Regions from separate parts of the Homo sapiens genome. Here region 2 is linked to region 1. Evidence: promoter capture Hi-C in 16 types of primary human blood cells and fetal thymus (Javierre and others, 2016). All regions are on one chromosome and are shown on one strand. Each heading gives the region's core, a stretch centred on a gene start or on the middle of the fragment in contact. The rest is flanking DNA. Distances are from core to core; before and after follow the strand shown.

What was found. The method cuts DNA at HindIII sites, captures the fragments that hold promoters and counts their contacts. A CHiCAGO score of 5 or more calls a contact.
Region 2: a fragment that was not itself captured here is called in contact with the fragment with the promoter of FAM222B in region 1 in 5 of 17 cell types (erythroblasts, naive CD8 T cells, activated CD4 T cells and 2 more); the score reaches 9.6 in erythroblasts.

The regions. Positions count from the first base shown.
Region 1 is chr17:28,841,163-28,847,678 of GRCh38, reverse strand. It overlaps FAM222B (family with sequence similarity 222 member B), which reads left to right and starts at 4,889. Exons shown (of 3, transcript NM_001077498.3): 1 at 4,889-4,997. RefSeq lists a silencer at 4,921-5,110 and an enhancer at 4,796-5,310. The HindIII fragment of the contact is 18,789 bases long and covers 1-6,516 here.
Region 2 is chr17:28,906,131-28,912,180 of GRCh38, reverse strand. It overlaps PHF12 (PHD finger protein 12), which reads left to right. Exons shown (of 15, transcript NM_001033561.2): 10 at 944-1,069; 11 at 1,812-1,955; 12 at 3,300-3,398; 13 at 4,509-4,591; 14 at 5,187-5,325; 15 at 5,664-6,050. The coding sequence ends at 5,998. Among named protein-coding and RNA genes, the nearest start is that of DHRS13, 6.1 kb to the right of the region's middle. RefSeq lists a silencer at 3,156-3,450 and an enhancer at 5,835-6,050. The HindIII fragment of the contact is 5,109 bases long and covers 1-5,014 here.

The DNA.
Region 1 (6,516 bases), core at 3,640-6,139:
CCTCCCAAAGCGCTGGGATTACAGGAGTGAGCCACCGCGCCCGGCCTTGTTTTTCTTTATTTAATTAATTTATTTATTTATGTTTGAGATAGAGTCCTTCTCTGTCGCCCAGGCTGCAGTGCAGTGGCACGATCTCGGCTCACTGCAACCTCCACTTCCCAGATTCAAGCAATAGTCCTGCCTTAGCCTCCGGAGTAGGTGGGATTACAGGCTTCCGCCACAATGCCCGGCTAATTTTTTGTATTTTTAGTAGAGATGGGGTTTCTCCATGTTGGCCAAACTGGCCTCGAACTCCTGACCTCGTGATCCGCCTGCCTCAGCCTCCCAAAGTGCTGGGACTATAGGCATGAACCACCACGCACGGCCCACTACACTATTTTAGTAAGGAAGATAAAGTTACACCTTGTAACTTGGGGTCACGGAAGTTTTAGATTTTTTCTTTTTCTTTTTTTTTTCTTTTGAGACGGAGTCTCTGTCGTTCAGGCTGGAGTGCAATGGCACTATCTCGGCTCACTGCAACCTGTGCCTCTGGGGTTCAAGCGATTTTCCTGCCTCAGCCTCCCGAGTAGCTGGGATCACAGGCATGTTCCACCATGCCCGGCTAATTTGGTATTTTTAGTAGAGATGGGGTTTCTCCATGTTGGTCAGGCTGGTCTCGAACTCCTGACCTTAGGTGATCTACCCACCTAGGCCTCCCAAAGTGCTGGGATTACAGGCGTCAGCCACCACGCCCAGCGCTAATTTTTAAATCTTTTGCAGAGACAGAGTCTCACTACGTTGCCCAGGCTGGTCACGAACTCCTGGCCTCAAATGGTCCTCTGCCTTGGCCTCCCCAAGTGCTGAGTTTACAGGCATGAGACACCACGTTTGGCCTTTCCCCAGATATTTTTGTTCTTCGGATGGTTGAATTCCTAGATGCTGAACCCTTGGATATTGAGGACCAATATTGAGCAGGAGAGGGCTGTGGGGTTAATAGAGGATTTTCTTTTCTTTTTTAAGAGGAAAATTTTATTCTTACTGAGATGGAGTCTGGCTCCCCTAGGCTGGAGTGCAATGGTTGAATCTCACTGCAACCTCCGCCTCCCAGACCCAAGCAATCCTCGCTCTTCAGCCTCCCAAGTAGCTGGGACTACAGATGCGGGCCACCACACCCGGCTAATTTTTTGGTAATTTTTTTGTACAGACGGGTTTTCACCATGTGGCCCAGCTTGGTCTCAAACTCCGCCTACTCCACCTCCCAAAGTGATGACATTACAGGCGTGAGTCACCGTACCTGGCCTGAACATTTTTTTTTTAATTAAAAAAATTTTTTTGAGACACAGTCTCACTCGGTTCCTTAGGCTGCGGTGTAGTGTAGTCTAGGCTCACTGCAACCTCTGCCTCCTGGGTTCAAGTGATTCTCCCACCTCAGCCTCCCAAGTAGGTGGGACCACAGGTGTGCACCACCACATCCAGCTAATTTTTTTTTTTTTTTTTGAGATGGAGTCTTGCTCTGTCGCCCAGGCTGGAGTGCAGTGGCATGGTCTCGGCTCACTGCAACCTCCACCTCCTGGGTTCACGCCGTTCTCCTGCCTCAGCCTCCTGTGTACCTGGGACTACAGGCGCCCGCCACCATGCCCAGCTAATTTTTTGTATTTTTAGTAGAGACGGGGTTTCACCGTGTTAGCCAGGATGGTCTCGATCTCCTGACCTCGTGATCCACCCGCCTTGGCCTCCCAAAGTGCTGAGATTACAGGCGTGAGCCACCAGGCCCAACCCTTATTTATTTATTTATTTTTCTTTTTGAGATGGAGCCTTGCTCTGTCACCCAGGCTGGATTGCAGTGGCGCAATCTTGGCTCACTACAACCTCCACCTCCCGGGTTCAATTGATTGTCCCACCTCAGCCCCCCAAGTAGCTGGGACTACAGGCACCCGCCACCATGCCCGGCTAATTTTTTGTATTTTTAGTAGAGATGGGGTTTCACCGTGTTAGCCAGAATGGTCTCGATCTCCTGACCTTATGATCTGCCCACCTCGGCTTCCCAAAGTGCTGGGATTACAGGTGTGACCCACTGTGCCTGGCCTATTTATTTATTTTTTCTTTTTTTCCTTTTTTTTTTGAGACAGAGTCTCGCTCTGTCGCCAAGGCTGGAGTGCAGTGGCGCGATCTCGGCTCACTGCAAGCTCCGCTTCCCAGTTCATGCCATTCTCCTGCCTCGGCCTCCCGTGTAGCTGGGACTACAGGCGCCCACCACCACGCCCAGCCAATTTTTTTGTATTTTTGTATTTTTTTTTTTTGAGATGGAGTCTCGCTCTGTCCCCAGGCTGGAGTGCAGTGGCACCGTCTTGGCTCACTGCAAGCTCTGCCTCCGGGCTTCACGCCATTCTCCCGCCTCAGCCTCCCAAGTAGCTGGGACTGCAGGGGCCCGCCACCATGCCCGGCTAATTTTTTATATTTTTAGTAGAGATGAGGTTTCACCGTGTTAGCCAGGATGGTCTCGATTTCCTGACCTCGTGATCCGCCCACCTCGACCTCCCAAAGTGCTGGGATTACAGGCCTGAGCCACCGCGCCCGGCCCTATTTATTTTTTTAATTGAGATGGAGTCTCACTCTGTTATCCAGGCTGGAGTGCAGTGGTGCGATCTCGGCTCATTGTAACCTCCGTTCCTGGGTTCAAGCGATTTTCCTGCCTCAGCCTCCTGAGTAGCTGGGACTACAGGTGCATGCCACCATGCCCAGATAATTTTTGTATTTTTTCAGTAGAGACAGGGTTTCACCGTGTTGGCCAGGCTGGTCTCGAATTCCTGGCTTCAAGTGATCCGCCCGCCTTAACCTCCCAAAGTGCTGGGTTTACAGGCATGAGCTATCTTGCCTGGCCACTATTTTTTAGATTTTTTGTAGAGATGAGTCTCCCTATGTTGCCCAGGCTGGTCTCTAACTCCTGGGCTCAAGCAATCCTCCCAACCTGGCCTCCCAAAATGTTGGGATTACAAGCATAAGTCACTATGCCCAGCTTTATTTTTAATTTTTTTTTCTTTTGAGACGGAGTCTCGCTCTGTCGCCCAGGCTGGAATGCAGTGGCTTGATCTCGGCTCACTGCAAGCTCCGCCTCCCGGGTTCACGCCATTCTCTTGCCTCAGCCTCCTGAGTAGCTGGGACTACAGGCGCCCGCCACCACGCCCGGCTAATTTTTTGTATTTTTAGTGAGACGGGGTTTCACCGTGTTAGCCAGGATGGTCTCGATCTCCTGACCTCATGATCCGCCCGCCTCGGCCTCCCAAAGTGCTGGGATTACAGGCGTGAGCCACTGCACCTGGCCTATTTAAATTTTTTTAACATTCCTCATTGAGCACTCAACTTGTCTTTTTTTCTTCTCTTTTTCCCCCTTACGTTGTATCTTGGGCCTTATGTGTCCAAACTCTGAAGAGAGGAGACCAGCGCTGGAGTTGAGAGAGAAAAAAGAGCCATGGTGATGAGGAGAGAGTTTAGTCCTGTACCTCCTCTTGCCTGCTGCTTTCAAGTCTGTTTTGTTGAATTCTCAGGACTCGATTGAGCTTAGTCTCTTGTCAGGCTATGCCAAAGCAGCACAGTAGTCTAGGGACTGACAGTTGGGCCTCACTGGACTTTAGTGGTTTTCTTTTACCAGTTTGAAAAAGGGCCAGGCTCACAGTGAGAGCTGGAAAGCAGGGGACTATTTGCCTGCGAATTCCTCAATAGCATACACGCGATGCCTAGAACATTTCTGTCCAATAAACAGCATGTGCTTGATAAACATACTGAACTTAGCGGTGTCCCCAGTGCATTCTAGGCGAGGTCACCTCCTTGACAAGGTCCCCAGGACTTCATTGCACCTCCTAGCTAGTAGCGTATTCTAGGATGGCAAAGCTGCCTTTACATAATTACCCCCGATACATTCTAGACACGATCATCTTGAAAGAGACCCAAATTTTACCAGGCATGGTGACTCAGGCCTGTAATCCCAGCACTTTGGGAGGCCGGGGCGGGCGAATCATCTGAGGTCAGGAGTTCGAGACCAGCCTGGCCAACATGGTGAAACCCCGTCTCTACTAAAAATACAAAAGTTAGCCAGGCGTGGTGGTGCAAGCCTGTAATCCCAGCTAGTCAGGAGGCTGAGGCAGGAGAATCGTTTGAACCCGGGAGGCGGAGGTTGCAGTGAGCTGAGATCGCGCCACTGCACTCCAGCCTGGGCAACAAGAGCAAAACTCCGTCTCAAAAAAAAAAAAAAAAAAAAAAGACCCAGGCTGGGCGCGGTGGCTCATGCTTGTAATCCCAGCGCTTTAGAAGGCTGAGGTGGGTGGATCACCTGAGGTCGGGAGTTCGAGACCAGCCTGACCAACATGATAAAACCCCGTCTCTACTAAAAATACAAAATTAGCTGGGCGTGGTGGTGCATGCCTGTAATCCCAGCTACTCGGGAGGCTGAGGCAGGAGAATCGCTTGAACCCGGGAGGCGGAGGTTGTTTGAGCCGAGATCACGCCATTGCACTCCAACCTGGACAACAAGAGCGAAACTTCGACTCAGAAAAAAAAAAAAAAAGACCCAAATTTATCATCAGTGGTCACCTCAGAGCACCTGAATTCAGGCCTTTAAGTGCAAGTAGGATGCAGAATTCTGGAAGAGCCAGTAAGTCTGTGGCTCCTTGGGGAAGCGCGATCCAAGGGTTTAGTAACCTAGGCACGGTACTCCAGAGGCGTACCCTGAGGCAGCCGCCAAATTCTCTAAGCCTCAGAATTCTTCAAGGCCAGCTCCCATGTCCACTAGAGACCCAGGGGTCCAGACCATCAGGCACTGAGGAAGACGCCCCCGGCAGGGGCTGCGCAGGCGCGTGCGGCCCGAAAGGGCCCAGGCGCTACACGCTGCGCAGGCGCAGGAGCGGCTCCGGGTAGTCCCCACAGCTGCGCCGGTGACTGAGGGGCCGGGCAGTGGAGAAGTGGTGGCGGCGGGCGGCGGGCGGCAAAGGAGCAGCCATGAGGGCCGGGCCCAGTCACCGACCGTGAGTAGTGGTGGAGGGGGAGTGGACAACGCGTGGGAAGAGGGTAACTTAGCGGAAGGATACATGACTTTGTGGGGTGGGCTCTGACTGTGGGAGACGGAAGGGCGTGGGGGAGGTACAGTTTGAGGTGATGATGGGAGAATTTGGGGCACGGGTGGCCCGGTCGCCGGCCGCAGAGCTGGACAGCTTGGTGGAGGGGGACGGGGTTGCGTGCTGTGGAGTGAAGCAGCCCATTTGTATCATCCCTTCCTCCAGGAGCTTTTGGTCGCCTCTCCTTTCCGCTTCTTTCAGAGAATGATTGCGGGGGGAGGGTGGTGGAGGATGAAAGCTCTGCTGGAGCTTAAGAAGCCACCTCTGAACCAGGCAGGGGAAGGGTCGGTCTCCCGGAGTAATAGGCTGCTCTGGGTAGAGGATGGGAGTCGGGAACCCTCTTTTGAAAGCCGGGAGGGGTCTAGGGAAAAGAGCTAGGGGCTTAGAGTCAGGCAGGTTCGAAAGGAAGTCCACCATTGATAAAGCTGTTAGGTAACCTTGGGCAGGTCCCACTTAACCTTTCTGAACACCAGGAAGATGTCATGCTTCAAACGGGCTATTGCAAGCATCACCTATGTAATTGAGATTGTTTATGCAAATTGTGAATTGTAAGTACTATGTTGATGTTAATGTATCACCAACAATGTTAGTGGAATTTAGACCTTACCGTTGTTAATGGAATGACTGATTTCTCTGTTAAGATAAGAAGCGTATTGTTTGTAAAACCTCAGTAGACACATATGTGCTTTCTTTATGGGCACAGCAGACCATGTGCAGAACTACCAGTTCTGTAATGTGATAAATTAGCCATCAGACTTCTGTAGGAAAAATACCGTACTCCGGCGTTTTTACAAACGGTTTGCAGCTCCTCACCCGAAAGGATGGAGGGCCAATCTATTAAAATATTTTCTGAACATAGCTAACTCATGTTGCCTTATAACACAGTTGGCACTAATGTGCTTTAACGAGTTGAGAAAAGGCCGGGTGCAGTGGCTCATGTCTGTAATCCCAGCACTTTGGGAGGCCGAGGCGGGCGGATCACGAGGTCAGAAGTTGGAGACCAGCCTAGCCAACGTAGTGAAATCCCGTCTCTACTAAAAATACAAAAAATCAGCCGGGTGTGGTGGCGGGCGCCTGTAATCCCAGCTGCTTGGGAAGCTGAGGCAGGGGAATCACTCGAACCCGGGAGGCAGAGGTTGCGGTGAGCCGAGATAGTGCTATTGCACTCCAGTTCGGGTGACAGTGCGAGACTCCGTCTGGAAAAAAGAGTTAAGAAAACTAGTTTGAGACAAGCTGGGAGGGCTGCCCAGTGAGGGATGTGAAAATATAATTTGTTTATTATATTTTATTTTATTTTTGAGACGGAGTCTCGCTCTGTCGCCAGGCAGGAGTGCAGTGGCATCATCTCGGCTCACAGCAACCTCCGCCTCCCGGGTTCAAGCGATTCTCCTGTCTCAGCCTCCTGAGTAGCTGGGATTACAAATGCCCA
Region 2 (6,050 bases), core at 1,211-3,710, 67 kb before region 1:
CCTCTGCCTGTTTTGTTCTGTCACCTTAAAAGAAGGCAGGGTGCTCTCTGGAATTACTATGATCAGCCTGAGGTTCTGCGTGATGGCCTCAGTATTGTCAGATCCACACAAAAGAATGGATTCATGCCTGATGCATATTCTCAGAAAGAGTTAATCTGATGAACTTCCATGTCAGGAAGCAGGGCTAGACAGCAGCACTGTCTTTCAGAGGAGCTGTAGAGTGGGATGCCCACAGGGATTGTTCTAGCCCAGAAGCGTGCCCTCAGGCCACATGCCAAAGGGCGGTCCTTCAGGTCTGTACTTGGCCTACTGTGGACCTGCTCTCTCAGCTGTCCCCAGAGAGCACTCAGGACCTTGAAGTTGCTGACCCCAGCATCTGAACCAGGTTTCAGATGCTGCCGGAACCCTCTGTGGTCTCTCCCGTCTGAACTGAAGCCGGCCTCCTAGTCAGCTGGGAGTCTCGGTAACCAGATGATTGTGATTTCTCTGCATGGGAGCCCCTGGTCCCAGGATGGCCCCGCTCCCAGGCTGTTTTCCTATCTCTGTTTATCGCTTAAAACCAGCGTGGGTAGATTCTCCACGCCGTGAGTCATATTTCAGTAGGCAAGAATTATAAGGGCAGGCACTACTTATTTTAAAGTAGAGGCAGCAGGGAGGTGGTCATGGCCCAAAGAATGAAGCTGCCCCACCACTTTCCCCAGAGCAGTGGATTTCAGTGGTTCTCAGTGCTCTGGAGACTCCTGCGTGCCTGGGTGCTTTGTCGTTCCATCTGCCCTTCCTCACCACACGTTTTTAGCTCTAGGAGTTCCAGAGCCTATGGGTTGAGAATCAAGAAGGGAACATCACCTTGGGTCCGAAATCCAGACCTGTCTCAGCAGTGGGGGATTGGACGGTGGGTTTCCCTCAGGCGACGTAAGTAACAGTCTTCCTGCTCCGTCCCCAGATGGCAAGGTCAGCCCCGGCACGTTATCCATAGGAAGCGCTTTAACCGTACCCTCTTTCCCAGCCAACTCTACTGCCATGGTGGACCTCACCAACTCACTTCGAGCATTTATGGATGTCAATGGAGGTGAGTGAATGAGCTGCTGCTGTTCCACCGTTTGCTATGTTGAAGGTGCTATTCCTATACAGCATTCAGCTCATTTCAGAAAGGGAGGGAAGGGACACCTGATCCCAGAGGCCTAGGGGGAGATGGGAATGAGGAGTATCCTTTTGGATGGGGGGGCGGGGTGAAAAAGAAAGCTCCTTCTGTAGCTCTGCCTTCTACATGTGCATATACACATAATCAAAGATGAAGGGAGGACAGAGCCAAGCTGAACCAGTGAGACGAGAACAAAATCACTTTAGGCAGATCACCTGGATTTGCAGAATAAAACTAAGATCCTCACTCCCAAAGGAGGGACCTCATCTGTGGGAAACCCCCAAAGTCCAGGAGAACAGGGACAGATCTTGATCTCTGTGAACACAAGGTGGGTAGAAAGTTCAAGTCTCAATATCAGACATCCAGGCCCTCCCCCACAGACAGGCAAGTGGTTTATTCCACTCTGCCTTTCTAGGGGCACTTTAATTAAAATCAGTCCACCCAACTACAGGAGGCAGCTGCACAGGCTGCATTGGGGCCCATCTCACTGCAAATGGCAAGTGAGATGCCCAGCTGCAGATCCTTGTACGCTCTGCACTCAATGCTGTTTGAGTAAAAATCACTTGGCTGGATTTTAGAAATGCCAAACTATTTGCTCTGTGACCCTGATTTGCTTCCACATTCCACTTCCCATCTCAGCTGCTTTTTAATCTTTCTCTTTGGCTAATAGAAATCGAGATAAATATGCTGGACGAGAAGCTGATCAAGTTTCTGGCCTTGCAGAGAATACATCAGCTTTTCCCCTCCCGGGTCCAACCTTCACCGGGCAGTGTCGGGACACATCAGCTGGCTTCTGGAGGGCACCACATAGAAGGTGCGCATGTACACACCTGTCACCACATCATCAGATCTCCCCTCTACGTGTGCGAATGGTCACCTTGCCTCCATGGAGAATCTGAGCTTCCAGTATCTCAAACCTCCTTGTGTGCTTTTCATGGGCTTAATAAAGCACCATGGTTTTTTTCTGAAGAGAGCAGGAACAAGATGGCAACCACAGCTTTCTGATCAGACTTGGGGAAGTCTGCTGTAACTTTCTTTCATATATAAGTCCACTTCGAGACACAGCAAAGCAGCTACCAGTACCTTTGGGTATATGTAGTGTACTTTCTGCTTACTTGCTTTCAAATATTTGAATTAGAAGGGCTTCCCGACTGAGTGCAGTGGCTCACACCTGTAATCCCAGCACTTTGGGAGGCTGAGGCGGGAGGATCACTTGAGCCCAGGAGTTGGAGACCAGCCTGGGCAACACAGTGAGACCCTATCTCTACAAATAATTTTAAACTTACCCAGGCATGGTGGCATACACCTGTAATCCCAGCTGCTTGGAAGGCTAAGATGGGAGGATCGCTTGAGTCTGGGAGGTCAAGGCTGCAGTGAGCTATGATTGTGCCACTGCACTCCAGCCTGGGTGACAGAGTGAGACCCTGTCTCCAAATAAATAAGTAAATAAATAAATAAAATTTTAAAAAGAATGGCTTCCCAAGAGGGAACTTTTCAAGTTCAAGTTGAGAAATAGAATAACACTAGGCCAACCTTCTGGAAATTTTCCCCAAGTGGTTAACTCTGTTTCAGATATGTCTGAGCATTGGCCATTAAGAGCCTTGCTGCTTCAAAGTGTGGTTCGCAGACCAGCAGCATCAGCAGCCCCTGAGAGCTTGTTAGAAATGCAGAGCTCAATGCATTGGTTTTTTGCCTATTTTTAAAGAAAACAGCAAAAGAAATGCAGAGCTAAGGCCCCTCCTCAGACCTATTGAATCAGAATCTGCATTTCAACAAGATCTGTAGGCGATTCTTATGCACATTAAAGTTTGAGAAACACTGGTCCATGCCGTCTGTTTTTCCATATTCTCCCTATAGTACCAGCTGGAATATCCCGGATTAGCCAGCCAGGAGCCCAGGAACTTACACAGTACTGTCATCTCTGACTTCTCTGACCATCTTCAAAGATGGTCCTCTGTACCCTGTGTTGGAAATGCTGTGGGTGGGGAGAGAAAGCCTTACCCTGCCGCAGCTCAGTGTTGGATGTGAGTTTGGAAAGATGAGTCATCCAGCGGGATTTTCTCCAGGCCATGAGCCAAAGGTCCAGATTTTGTTGGTTTATGTTTGGATCACAGGATCTGAGTTTCTGAATGATCCTATTCCTATGTTTGTCTTGTAGTGCAAAGAAAGGAGGTACAGGCCCGAGCTGTGTTCTACCCCCTCTTAGGGTTGGGAGGAGCTGTGAACATGTGCTATCGAACCCTCTACATCGGGACAGGTGAGCCAGCCAGGAAGCTGGGAGAGACACTGAATCTGTTCAGCCCTAAAGACTGACACCCTTACCCACAGAAGTTAGAAAGGGGTGAGGGAAGCCCTTTCCAGAGTTGACTGCTTTAAATCAGTGGATAGCTAGACAAGAGAAACTAAGAATAGAGACAATCAGCCAGTCACGGTGGCTCACGCCTATAATCCCAACACTTTGGGAGGACAAGGCAGGAGGAACACTTGAGCCCAGGACTTCGAGACCAGCCTGGGCAACATGGTGAAACCCTATCTCTACCAAAAACAAATATAAAAAATTAGCTGGGCTAACATGCCTATAGTCCCAGCTACTTGGGAGGCTGAGGTGGGAAGATCACCTGAGGCTGGGAGGTCCAGGCAGTGATCCTTTTTGTGCCTCTGCACTCCAGCCCAGGCAACAGAGTGAGACCCTGTCTCAAAAATAAAAGAGACAATCAGTTCCTTGTCTTCCCTTGTTCAGGCCCTTTTGCTTTGTCTTTGCCCAGTGTTGCAACAGCAGAGATGAAAGTCAGCTCTGACTACTGCCCAGGGAGGCACTTTAAACACTGCAGGGAAGAACCTAAGGAGAAGGCAGATGCTTTGTCCCTGGTGGTCTTTGAAAGAGTGATAGACTCACACATACCCAATCTTCAGTTAGCCCTGTATCTGTTTTTTGTTTTGTTTTGTTTTCCCTAAAAGTCCTAGAGACCGATAGCTCTGTATCTGGTACAGAAGGACAGACAGATTAGCCCTTACCCTAGAAACTTCCCTTTCTTTAAGGTGATAAGATTTTCTAGGCTCTGCACCCCGATGTTGTATTTTCATAGAAATATCCCATCCTCTTCAGTAGCTCACTCTTCCCTTCTGGGTAGCAGCCACATGTTCTAAAGCAGATCAGCTGGCAGGGACAGCTGTTCTTTATCAGGAGCTTGGAAAAGACAACAGTTTTTGTTCAAAAATAAAAGGGGAGGGCCCTGAGCTACTCACCCTTGAAGTCTCTGCTAGTGCCAACCCAGAAGCTAACTCTCTCCCTGTCTTACCTCCCCGACACATGCACCTTACAATCTGTTCTCTGCCTTCCTTTTCCTCTACTCCTGCCACCTTGCAGGAGCTGACATGGATGTGTGCCTTACAAACTATGGTCACTGTAACTACGTGTCCGGGAAACATGCCTGCATATTCTACGATGAGGTGAGGGCCGGAGATGCGGTGGGAGGGAGCTTTCCCAACCTGAGGCCTCTCCCAGGCAGTAGGTTTTTGTTCAGTGCCCTGAGGGGAGGGAAGAGGGATTGGGGGTCCTCTCTTTTTCTTCCCTCCCTGTCATTCCTGGAGGAGGAGAGTCTTGATGTGAAATAGCATCCTACCTGGGAAGCTACCTGCTTCCCAGGAGCAGGGCTACCATTTTTCCTGAGGTTAGTCACAGGCACAACAGAGGGAGCCTACCCTAAAGCAAGGGAGGGGACCAGCATAGAAGGAAGCCAAGCCTTGTGGGTGTGTCCCTGTGAATTTCATTATCATCACGGGCCAGTGAGTATCATACCAAGAGGAGCGGTGCTGAGAGGGCAGAGTGAAGGAGTGGGAGAGTAGGGAGTGTGGGACACCAGAAGGAAAGCTTCCCTGAGGAGGTGTCTCCAGCCCCCTTCTGAAAGGACAGGGGCCATGACTGGGGAGGCAAGTAAGGACTCTCTAGGTAGAGTAGCACGGCCTTCTCCATATGTCCTCTCTCCCCTTAGCCCCAGGCCCCACACAGCAGACCACACATCTTATCTCCCCTCCTCCTCCTCAGAATACCAAACATTATGAGCTGTTAAACTACAGTGAGCATGGGACAACGGTGGACAATGTGCTGTATTCATGTGACTTCTCGGAGAAGACCCCGCCAACCCCCCCAAGCAGTATTGTTGCCAAAGTGCAGAGTGTCATCAGTAAGTTGGAGCAGAGATCTGTGGCCACAAAGCTGAGGCCCCAGTCAGGGTGGTTCTGACTTGCTGCCCATGGTCTGTCTCTTGCCTTCCCAGTCCTATTGGCCAAGCTCTACTTCCTCGTGGGCCCAGGGCAGGCCACAGAGAAGCAAGTGCTGAGTACCCCCATGTGTGTACACACCTGTGGGGACTTCAGACTCCACCAACCCTTTCTGAGCATCCTTCCTCCCTAGTCATGCAGCAGTTGGAATGGGGAGATGCAGGAGCCCAACCTTGGCAAACAGCCCACATGGGTTGGCTGCTCACTGTTCCTCTTCTGTGACCATCCCCCTTTTTCCCAGGGCGCCGCCGGCACCAGAAACAGGACGAAGAGCCAAGTGAGGAGGCAGCCATGATGAGTTCCCAGGCCCAGGGGCCGCAGCGGAGACCCTGCAATTGCAAAGCCAGCAGCTCGAGCTTGATTGGGGGCAGTGGGGCCGGCTGGGAGGGCACAGCCTTACTGCACCATGGCAGCTACATCAAGCTGGGCTGCCTGCAGTTTGTCTTCAGCATCACTGAGTTTGCGACCAAACAGCCCAAAGGCGATGCCAGCCTGCTGCAGGATGGGGTCTTGGCCGAGAAGCTCTCTCTCAAGCCCCACCAGGGCCCTGTGCTGCGCTCCAACTCTGTTCCTTAGGACTGGCGGCTACCCCGCCACTGGCCTGTACACCCACCCAAGACTCCTGCAA